Regions from separate parts of the Homo sapiens genome. Here region 2 is linked to region 1. The links are contacts of gene promoters, found by promoter capture Hi-C in blood cells and fetal thymus (Javierre and others, 2016). All regions are on one chromosome and are shown on one strand. The core of a region is centred on a gene start or on the middle of the fragment in contact, and the rest is flanking DNA. Distances in the headings are between cores, read along the strand shown.

Region 1 (4,819 bases), core at 31-2,530:
TTTTAGCCGGGATGGCCTCGATCTCCTGACCTCGTGATCCGCCCGCCTCGGCCTCCCAAAGTGCTGGGATTACAGGCGTGAGCCACCGCGCCCGGCCATGATCATCTTCTTGACTATGCTGATGTGACAAGTACCTAAAGCCATCAGACTCTACCCTTTAAATATGCAGTTTGGGCCAGGCACCGTGGCTCATGCCTGTAATTCCAGCACTTTGGGAGGCAGAGGTGGGTGAATCACTTGAGGCCAGGAGTTTGAGACCAGCCTGGCCAACATGGTGAAACTCTGTCTTTACTAAAAAAAAAAAAAAAAAAAAAAAAATCAGCCGGGTGTCGTGGGGCACACCTGTAATCCCAGCTATGCTGGAGGCTGAGGCACGAGAGTCACTTGAACCCTGGAGGCGGAGGTTGCAGTGGGCCGAGATCACATCACCGCCCTCCAGCCTGGGCGACAGAGCAAGACTCTGTCTCAAATAAATAAATAAACAAACGAACAAGCAGTTTGTTGTACCTTAGTTATATCTAAAAAAAAAATGCTGTCAACAAATAGAGCAGAAGTGAAATAAAGGAAAATAAATGGGCCAAGAACTCTAAGGTATATTTGACAAATCATTCAGAACCTTTAAAAAAGAAAGAATCACAGAGGCATAGAAAGACAGGGAGGAACAGGGAGACAGAAACACCTGTGGCCCAAGGAGAACAAAACAAGGCTCCTAAGACAGACAGGAGGAGAGAGAGAGAGAGTGAGTGAGAGACAGACAGAGAAAAAGACAGAGAGAGAGAGACAGAGACAGAGAGACAGAGAGGCGAGAGGGATAGAAAGAGAGAGAGGGGTGGAGAGAGACACGAGATATTGAGAGAGACTCAGAAAGATAGCCGAGGGAGAACCACAGAGAGATGGAAGAAGACTCTGAGAAAAAACCAGAGACAAAGATGGAAAGAGGAGTATCGAGGGTGAACAGACAGTGGTGGAATGAGCAAAATGCAGAGAAGAAAGCAAGCAATCCAGGCGCCAAGAATAGTGACCCAGAGTTGGTGAGAAGCCAGATCCTTAAGGCTGGGGGAGGCAGGGAAGGGGCTGGCCTGGCTTCCGGAGACCCCTCCCCATTCTCCGGGCCAGGGAGGTAGGGAGTGACATTCCGGACTGGGTGGGGGGTGCTCTGGGGGTGGAGATAGGGGGAGCAGGAGGAGCTATTGCTAAGGCCCGATAGGCACCTCATTGCCCGGGAATGTGCCCCAGGGAGCAGTGGGTGGTTATAACTCAGGCCCGGTGCCCAGAGCCCAGGAGGAGGCAGTGGCCAGGAAGGCACAGGCCTGAGAAGTCTGCGGCTGAGCTGGGAGCAAATCCCCCACCCCCTACCTGGGGGACAGGGCAAGTGAGACCTGGTGAGGGTGGCTCAGCAGGCAGGGAAGGAGAGGTGTCTGTGCGTCCTGCACCCACATCTTTCTCTGTCCCCTCCTTGCCCTGTCTGGAGGCTGCTAGACTCCTATCTTCTGAATTCTATAGTGCCTGGGTCTCAGCGCAGTGCCGATGGTGGCCCGTCCTTGTGGTTCCTCTCTACCTGGGGAAATAAGGTAGGGGAGGGAGGGGAAGTGGGTTAAGGGCTCCCCGGATCGCCTGGGCCTCCCAACCCTCTGACATTCCCCATCCAGGTGCAGCGGCCATGGCTACAGCAAGACCCCCCTGGATGTGGGTGCTCTGTGCTCTGATCACAGCCTTGCTTCTGGGGGTCACAGGTAACCAGAACTCTGGGGTGGGAGGGTTGTGGGATTGGGAGGACTGTCTCTGCGGCACTAGAGCGCCTGTCCCCTGGGGAACTGTGTGAGCCTGGGCATGACTCCGGGACCGGGTGAATGTGAGTCTCTGTCTGTACTTGTGGTTGTGCGATCGTATGTGGCCCTGTGACTGCCACGGTGTGTGTCGGGGAGGGGGATGCCTTTTCCCATATCAGGTGACTGTGCGGCAGGTGGCACTGACCCTTTGAGGCTGTGTGTGTGGTTTTGTGATTGTGTGTGCATTTAAGATTGTGTGTGGCTCCACAGCTGTGTGGGTGAATGCATGTAGCACTGGGGGTGTTCACTGTGTGTTTGGCTGTGTGTGGTGACTTGGCATTGTATATGACTGCAGGTATCTGCAGTTCCTGTCCCTGAGGTCCCGGGATTGCGTGCAACAAAAGTGGTCATCACCATGGAAAGCTGTGACTGTGTGCTGCTTGCAGGCGATTATGTGATTGTGGCTGAGTGTGACGTTATGGATGCCCGTATTTGTGACCGTGTGACTACCTGAAGCTCTGTGTAGGGGTGACTGTATGTGACTGTGTGTGTCTGTGTGAGGCCGTGTAAATGCTACTGTATGTGTGATGGTGCAGCTGTGTGTCTGGAGTTTCTGTCTCTGCCTGGAGGGATAGAGGGTGCAGGGGTAGCTATCTCTGGGAGATGGGTGCCAGGTGACTGACTTGCAGTGTGTGCCTGTGTGCAGAAGAGTATGTGGCAGTCTGAACATCTGTGCACACACGGCATCTGTGCGTGGCACTGAGACACTGTGGATGAGGGTGTGCGATCCCGCTAGGCTGCCCGGGAGCGTGTGTACCTGGAGACAGAGCTGTATGTTAGCTGCACCTGTGGAGGCAACATGGGCGTGTCTGCAGAACTGCGTGCGTGCTTGGCTGTTACTGCTGTTGTGCGCGTGGTTCTTGGGGTGAGTTCGTGAATGATGGTGGTGCCAGGGCCATCAGCAAGGGTAAGAACCAGGCCGGGCGCGGTGGCTCACGCCTGTAATCCCAGCCCTTTGGGAGGCCGAGGCAGGCGGATCACCTGAGGTCGGGAGATCGAGGCCAGCCTGACCAACATGGAGAACCCCGTCTCTACTAAAAATACAAAAAATTAGCTGGTGTGGTGGCGCGTGCCTGTAATCCCAGCTACTCGGGAGACTGGGGCAGAAAAATCGCTTGAACCCGGGAGGTGGAGGTTGCGGTGAGCCGAGATCGCGCCATTGCACTCCAGCCTGGGCAACAAGAGCGAAACTCCGTCTCGAAAGAAAAAAAGAAAAAAAAAAGGGTAAGAACCAGTGAATGGGCACGGGAGGACTGATGATGGAGTGGGGCATGCATGTAGTCTGTAGGTCTGTGTGTGAGAGGAGGAGATTGACAGGATTGAGAAGGCATGTTTTCATCTGAGAATTCAGAAACCTAGGCCTGCTCTTCCCCTCCATGTGGCCCCCTAAGCTGAGCCCTTCTTTCCTGGTCCTGCTTTCGGAACCCTAGCTCCGCCCATGAGCTCTGACCCCACCTCCTTTCCTCAACCACGCCCCTAGGCCAGACTCTAGTGGACCCCGCCTAAGGCCACACCCCTTTGGGCCAGGCTCCACCCCCTATTCTGTGGGTACCTTCTAGAACCCCCTTCAAAGTCAGAGCTTTTTTTTTTTTTTTTTTGGAGACAGTCTTGCTCTCTCTCCCAGGCTGGAGTGCAGTGGCGTGATCTCGGCTCACTGCAACCTCTGCCTCCCAGGTTCAAGTGATTCTCGTGCCTCCACCTCCTGAGTAGCTGGGATTACAGGTGCGCGCCACCACGCCTGGCTAATTTTTGTGTCTTTAGTAGAGACAGGGTTTCACCTTGTTGGCCAGGCTGGTCTCAAACTCCCAACCTCAGGTGATCCGCCCACCTCGGCCTCCCAGAGTGCTGGGGTTACAGGCGTGAGCCACCGCCCCCAGCCCAAAGTCAGAGCTCTTTATAGGAGACTCTAACATGTAACCCTGACCCTGGCCCTAACTAAGTCAATTCCAAACCCCTTCCTGCCTCCAGCCCTGACCCCACTCACTGAGGCCTGACCCCACTTCTTGAGACCAGTTCCATCCCTAAAGCCCTGGTCTCCCTCCCATCCCCAGGCTCCAGCCCCCACAGCTTTGGCACTACCCCTGAGCTTGTCCAGGAATCCTGTACCCAATTTTACCCTCACATGTAGTTCTAGCCAATTCCAGGAATCTGTGAGGTCCAGTTAGAGTCCAGTAACCCTACCTGAGCCTGGGCTCTGTCCTTGAGCTTGAGCCTGGGCTTGAGAGGTGCCACTCTTATTCTCCAGGCCCTGCCCCTGCCCCCTCAGCATGTCAGACACCCACCCTCTAGCTGGTCTGGCCTCTTGAGTCTGAAACCCACCCCCAGCCCAAGCCCCGCCTCTGAGCCCCGCCCAACCCATTTTCCGTTCCCAGAGCATGTTCTCGCCAACAATGATGTTTCCTGTGACCACCCCTCTAACACCGTGCCCTCTGGGAGCAACCAGGACCTGGGAGCTGGGGCCGGGGAAGACGCCCGGTCGGATGACAGCAGCAGCCGCATCATCAATGGATCCGACTGCGATATGCACACCCAGCCGTGGCAGGCCGCGCTGTTGCTAAGGCCCAACCAGCTCTACTGCGGGGCGGTGTTGGTGCATCCACAGTGGCTGCTCACGGCCGCCCACTGCAGGAAGAAGTGAGTGGGAGTTCCAAGAGGAGGGTTGGTGGGGACGGGGAAGTGGGGGTGGGGGTGGGGAAGTGGGGGTGGGGGTGTCATGGAGGTGAGGGCTGGTGGGGACGGGGAAGTGGGGTTGGGGGTGTCATGGAAGGTGAGGGTTGGTGGGGATGGGTTGGGGATGTGGGAGCAGGAGGAGGTCGAGTTGGGGATAGGACTAAGGATGGAGTTTTGCGGGGGAGCAAGGTGGGAGGATGAGGTTGGAGAGGGGAGAGTGTTGTGGTAGGGAATGGGAAGGAGCCAAGGATGGGTTGGATTTGGGGTTAGGAGCATATATTTGTTGAATGGTTTGGGATGGAGGTGGAATTGGGATTGGC
Region 2 (5,255 bases), core at 2,528-5,027, 130 kb before region 1:
CTGGCAAACTCCTATTCATCTGCAGGAACCTGCTAAGACTGCCCCTCCTCCTGGAACCCTTTCCCACACCTGAGGCTCCATCCAGCCCCTCAGCCTCCTCCAGGGGAGCACACGTGACACCAGATGGAGTTTCCTGTTGCCCCGCTGGCCTGTTTCACCAGACCGTGAGTTCACAGAGGAGCAGCGACTGAGGCTCTGTGTTCATTCATTCATCAGATGTTTATCGATGCCCGTGGCACAGCAAACAAGACCGTGCCAAGCAGGTGGTGGAGTGGTGAGCGAGATACCCTGGGAACCTAGCATGTGGTGGGAAGAGGGCCCAGCAACCTGGCCACGGCACGGCAGGTGCTGAGGTCCGGGCTGGGGACGGCAAGTCCTTGGGAGCCACCGGCGGTGAACTGGGCCTCATCAGCTGCATCTCCAGCTGTCTCCCTACCTTTGAGCTGAAGGCCTTGGGGAGCCTTCCAGTCATTCTGTGCCCTGGCTCAGGCTCTGCATAAACACAAGAACCCCCTCTTTATTTATTTGTTTGTTTATTTATTTATTTTGCAACAGAGTCTCGCTCTGTCACCCAGGCTGGAGTGCAGTGGCACAATCTCAGCTCACTGCAACCTCTGCCTCCCGGGTTCAAGCGATTCTCCTGCCTCAGCCTCCTGAGTAGCTGGGGCTACAGGCACCCACCACCATGCCCAGCTCAGTTTTTTTGTATTTTTAGTAGAGATTGGGTTTCACCATGTTTTCCAGGCTGGTCTTGAACTCCTAACCTCAGGTGATCCACCTTGGCCTCCCAAAGTGCTGGGATTACAGGCGTGAGCCACAGCACCTGCCCCCCTGCCACCCTTTAAAGAAAGGATTCTCTTGGATCTCAGGGATAGAGTGGCATGAAGGAGCCACTCCCAGGCTCCTGGGGGTTGACCAAGGCCTTCTGCTTAAGTAGGGTGTTCTTTTTAGGAACAGGGAGACCTTGTGTTTACTAGGAAATTCTGTTTTATTTTTAACTTTTTCCTTTGAGATAATTACAGACTCACAGGAGGCTACACACACAGCATAGGGAATCTCCCTCACCTACTTCTCCCCGTGGCGACACCTTGTGTAACTGTCGTTCAGAATGGAAACCAGGAAATCAACACAGAAACCAAACTATTAATGAGACTACAGATCACACTGCGCGTTCATTTTTCACACGCATTTCTTTGCACGTGTGTGTGTGCACGTGGGCTTCTGTGTCTCTTTATCTCATGTGTAGAATCGTGTAATCACCGCCACATCCAGTGCAAAGCTGATTCGTCACCACAGAGCAGCTCCCTCCTGCCACCCCATCCCTGGGTCCCAAGAGAACCCTTTCTTAAAAGAGGGAGTTCTTGACGGGTGTGGTGGCTCATGCCTGTAATCCTTGCACTTTGGGAGGCCAAGGAGGGTGGATCATTTGAGGTCAGGAGTTTGAGACCAGACTGGCCAACATGGTGAAACCCTGTCTTTACTAAAAATACAAAAAAATGAGCGGGGCATGGTGGTGGGTGCCTATAGCCCCAGCTACTCAGGAGGCTGAGGCAGGAGAATCGCTTGAACCCAGGAGGCAGAGGTTGCAGTGAGCCGAGATTGAGCCACTGCACTCCAGCCGGGGCTAAAGAGTGAGACTCTGTCTCAAAAAAAAAAAAAAGAAAAAGAAAAAAAGAAAAAAAAATAAAATAAATAAATAAATAAAATAAATTTAAAAATTTAAAAATAAAGAGGGGGTTCTTGTGTTGATGCCGAGCCTGAACCAAGGCAGAGGAGGCCGGGAAGGCTTCCCAAGGCCTTCAGCTCAAAGCAGGGAGGCCCATAGTTAAACAGAAACAGTTCAGGAATCACAGAAAGGCACCTGGGGAGAGATGGGTGTGTGGCTCCAGATGCAGGTGCCCAGACAGTGCGTCCCCAGGTGTACAGACAGACCCAGGCCAAGCTCCAGCTCAAAGAGCCAGCCTAGGGGGGTGCCGAGGTGGAGGGAGGCTGAGTCAGGCTGAGGCCGGGGAACAGTTGGGGTAGCCAAGGGAGGCAAGCAGCCTCCTGAGTCACCACGTGGTCCAGGTACGGGGCTGCCCAGGCCCAGAGACGGACACAAGCACTGGGGAATTTAAGGGGCTAGGGGAGGGGCTGAGGAGGGTAGGCCCTCCCCCAAATGAGGATGGAACCCCCCCAACTCCAGAACCCCCCTGCAGGCTGGCCAGAATCCTTCCCCATCTCATTCACTCTGTCTCTCCTGCTCTCTGCCGTCTCCTATTTTGAATTTCCAACCCCGTCTGTTAAGACTGTCCTTCTGTCTCTGAATCTCTGTCCCCTTCTCTTTCTGGGTCTCTCTCCCTCTCCCTCTGGGTCTCTGTCCCCCTCTCTGGGTCTCTGTCACTCTCTCTTTGCATCTCCAGCTCTCACTTTGTCTCTGCACCTAGCAGATCCCAAGCTGGGGAATGCCAGTTCTGGCACCAACCTTCCTGCTCCCTGCTGGGGCCTCTGCTCCCCCATCTCTCAGGAGTCGAAAGTGAGAAAGCAAGGTGGGCAGCTCTGCTCCAGGTCCAGGTATCTCCCGCCCACCTCCTGCCCGTCCTCTATCCCACCCCTCCTCTCCATCTCTCCCTGGCGCTGCCATCTCTCATCTAGGCCTCCGTCTCCTCTGTCATTGTCCCCATCCCCTGTAGGTGCCCATCCTTCCCGTCTCCCCTCTGCCATCGGCCTGCCTGTCCCATCCTCTTTCTCCCACCATGTCCCGTTCTCTTCCACGTCTCATGCCCGCACTGCCTTCATCATCATCGCTGTTGTTCTGTGTGTGTTTGTGGTGAGTGCCGCATGGTGGGGGCGTCTCGGCCTCTCTCCTCTCTCTCCACTGTTTTCTCTTTCTGTGTGTCTGTTTCCATTCTATCTCCACCTTCTTCCCTCCGTCTTTTGCTTTTCTATCTCCACTTCTCCACACCCCTCTCTCCCTGCGTCTCTGTGTCTCCCTCTTCCTCTGTCTTGTTTTTTTCCCACCGTCTGCCTCTTCTGTTCCCTGTCACATCCAACTTCCACCGGTTTCTCCAGCTCTCTCCTCAGTTCCTTCTCTCATGAGCACACCTGCCTCTGTGCTCGTATTCCTGGACTCCTCTCTCTCCACTGTCATATCTTCTCATTCATTTTCCCAGTCTCTCTCTGTCTCTTGCTCTCCCCCTCTCTGTCACTCTGTCTCTGTCTCTCTCTTTCTCTCTCTCTCTCTGTGTCTCTCTGTCTGGCTCTCTCTCTGTCTCTCTCTCCATCTCTCTCTCTCTCTCCCCCCCGTCACCCTGTCTCTGTCTCTCTCTGTCTGTGTGTCTCTCTGTCTTTCTCTCTCTCCATCTCTCTCTGTCTCTCTCTCTCTCTCTCTCTCTCTCCCTCTCTCCCTCCTCCCGTGACTCCCTCTCTCAGTCCATCTCTTCCTCCCTCTCTCAGCCCCTTCGTGCCCTTTCCTCTGACACTCCCCACCCTGGTTTCCTGACTCCACCACTAGATCCACCACCTCCAGCAACTGGGAACCCTCCCCTGCCCACCCTGCCCTGGGGTCCCCTCCCAGGATTCCTTCTAGATTATAGCATCTTCCCTGGGCGGGTTCTCATGAACAATTGTGGCTGCTTTTTTGGCCAGACAGGGGAGGGAGGGGATGGGATCAGGGAGTCCTGGAATGGGAACTAGGCAATAAAAAAAAAAAAATGTCAGAAGCAGGGCGGCGGGAGGTGGGGGCAGGGCCAGCTGTCCTTACCAGGGATAAAAGGCTTTGCCAGTGTGACTAGGAAGAGAGACACCTCCCCTCCTTCCTTCATCAAGACATCAAGGAGGGACCTGTGCCCTGCTCCACATCCTCCCACCTGCCGCCCGCAGAGCCTGCAGGCCCCGCCCCCCTCGTCTCTGGTCCCTACCTCTCTGCTGTGTCTTCATGTCCCTGAGGGTCTTGGGCTCTGGGTAAGTGCCCCTTGCTGTCTCTGCCTCTCAGCCCCCGGTTCTGTTGAAGGTTCCTTCTCTCTCACTTTTTCTCTGCATTTGACAGGACCTGGCCCTCAGCCCCTAAAATGTTCCTCCTGCTGACAGCACTTCAAGTCCTGGCTATAGGTAAGAGAACGGTTGGGTATGACACAAGGGGGTCCCCTGGAGACTCTGAGAAGAGATGGGGATGGGTCCTTGGGGCCCCTGGATGCTCATGGTGACCTCATAAGAAAGAGCAGGGAGTGGTTTGGGGGTCATGGTGGGGGAACGTGCTGGAGGCCTAAATTCCTAGTTGTGGAGGTGCTAGGGAATTGTGGGGCCGGGGAGAGAGGTGTTTATAAGGTCTGGTGCAAAATACATAAGGAATCTTAGGGAACTATTAGGTCCTGAGTGGGTCATAGCAGAAAGATCACGGGGCTCTACCTGACTGTGTTAGGAAAGAAACAATGTCAGAAAGATGTTTTGTTGTCAGAGGGAAGGTGGAGAAGGATGATGGGATGGCGGGATCGTGGCATGGGGTGGCGGGATCGTGGCATGGGTGTGTGAGGTGGATGGGGGCAAGTGTGGGGCAAGAGATGGCGGATCCTTGGGGTCCCACTGAGTGGGAACGTTGGGGAGGAGACAGGGAGGTCCTTGAATGTGTTGGGGAAGGACTCATTGGGGGGAAATGTGGCATATTTCGAGAAGTGATCACAGAAATTATGGGAGCATAGAGCTAAGGGTCGTAGATGTAGCAAGGCCCTGGATAAGGTGGCCACGGCACAAAATAAGAGATGCTACGGAGGTGACTTGGGAGGTGAGTCAGAAAGCTCTCCGTGCTGGGGCAATAACGGGGTCAATATTGGGCATGTCTCACCCTGGGTGGGACAGATAGAGGCGGGCAGTTTAGGGGTTAGACCAAAAGGAAGGGGATTTGTCAGTTTTGGAATCCTACAAACTTGTGGAGTGGAGAGTGTTTGCTCATCTACTTTCCCCACCCAATCCTGTCCACTCCTAGCCATGACACAGAGCCAAGAGGATGAGAACAAGATAATTGGTGGCCATACGTGCACCCGGAGCTCCCAGCCGTGGCAGGCGGCCCTGCTGGCGGGTCCCAGGCGCCGCTTCCTCTGCGGAGGCGCCCTGCTTTCAGGCCAGTGGGTCATCACTGCTGCTCACTGCGGCCGCCCGTAAGTGACCCCCTCCCCTGTCCCTGTACCTAGTGAATTCCAGAGTCTAAAGCCCTAGAGCTGAGCTGAGAACCTGGATCTCTGTATAGAACCCAATGTAGTGGCTGGCTCCTGGTTTGAGGT

Evidence for each region. The method cuts DNA at HindIII sites, captures the fragments that hold promoters and counts their contacts. A CHiCAGO score of 5 or more calls a contact.
Region 2: the fragment with the promoter of KLK14 here is called in contact with the fragment with the promoter of KLK5 in region 1 in 8 of 17 cell types (M2 macrophages, M0 macrophages, erythroblasts and 5 more); the score reaches 9.1 in M2 macrophages.

What each region holds. Positions count from the first base shown.
Region 1 is chr19:50,949,499-50,954,317 of GRCh38, reverse strand. KLK5 (kallikrein related peptidase 5) reads left to right here and starts at 1,280. Exons shown (of 6, transcript NM_012427.5): 1 at 1,280-1,571; 2 at 1,650-1,733; 3 at 4,202-4,463. The coding sequence starts at 1,661. It overlaps LOC105372442 (a long non-coding RNA gene), which reads right to left and starts at 4,195. Exons shown (of 7, transcript XR_007067308.1): 1 at 4,011-4,195. The HindIII fragment of the contact is 21,591 bases long and covers 1-4,819 here.
Region 2 is chr19:51,081,409-51,086,663 of GRCh38, reverse strand. It overlaps KLK14 (kallikrein related peptidase 14), which reads left to right and starts at 3,777. Exons shown (of 6, transcript NM_001369775.2): 1 at 3,777-3,942; 2 at 4,028-4,089; 3 at 4,961-5,132. The coding sequence starts at 4,050. RefSeq lists a silencer at 1-72. The HindIII fragment of the contact is 24,105 bases long and covers 1-5,255 here.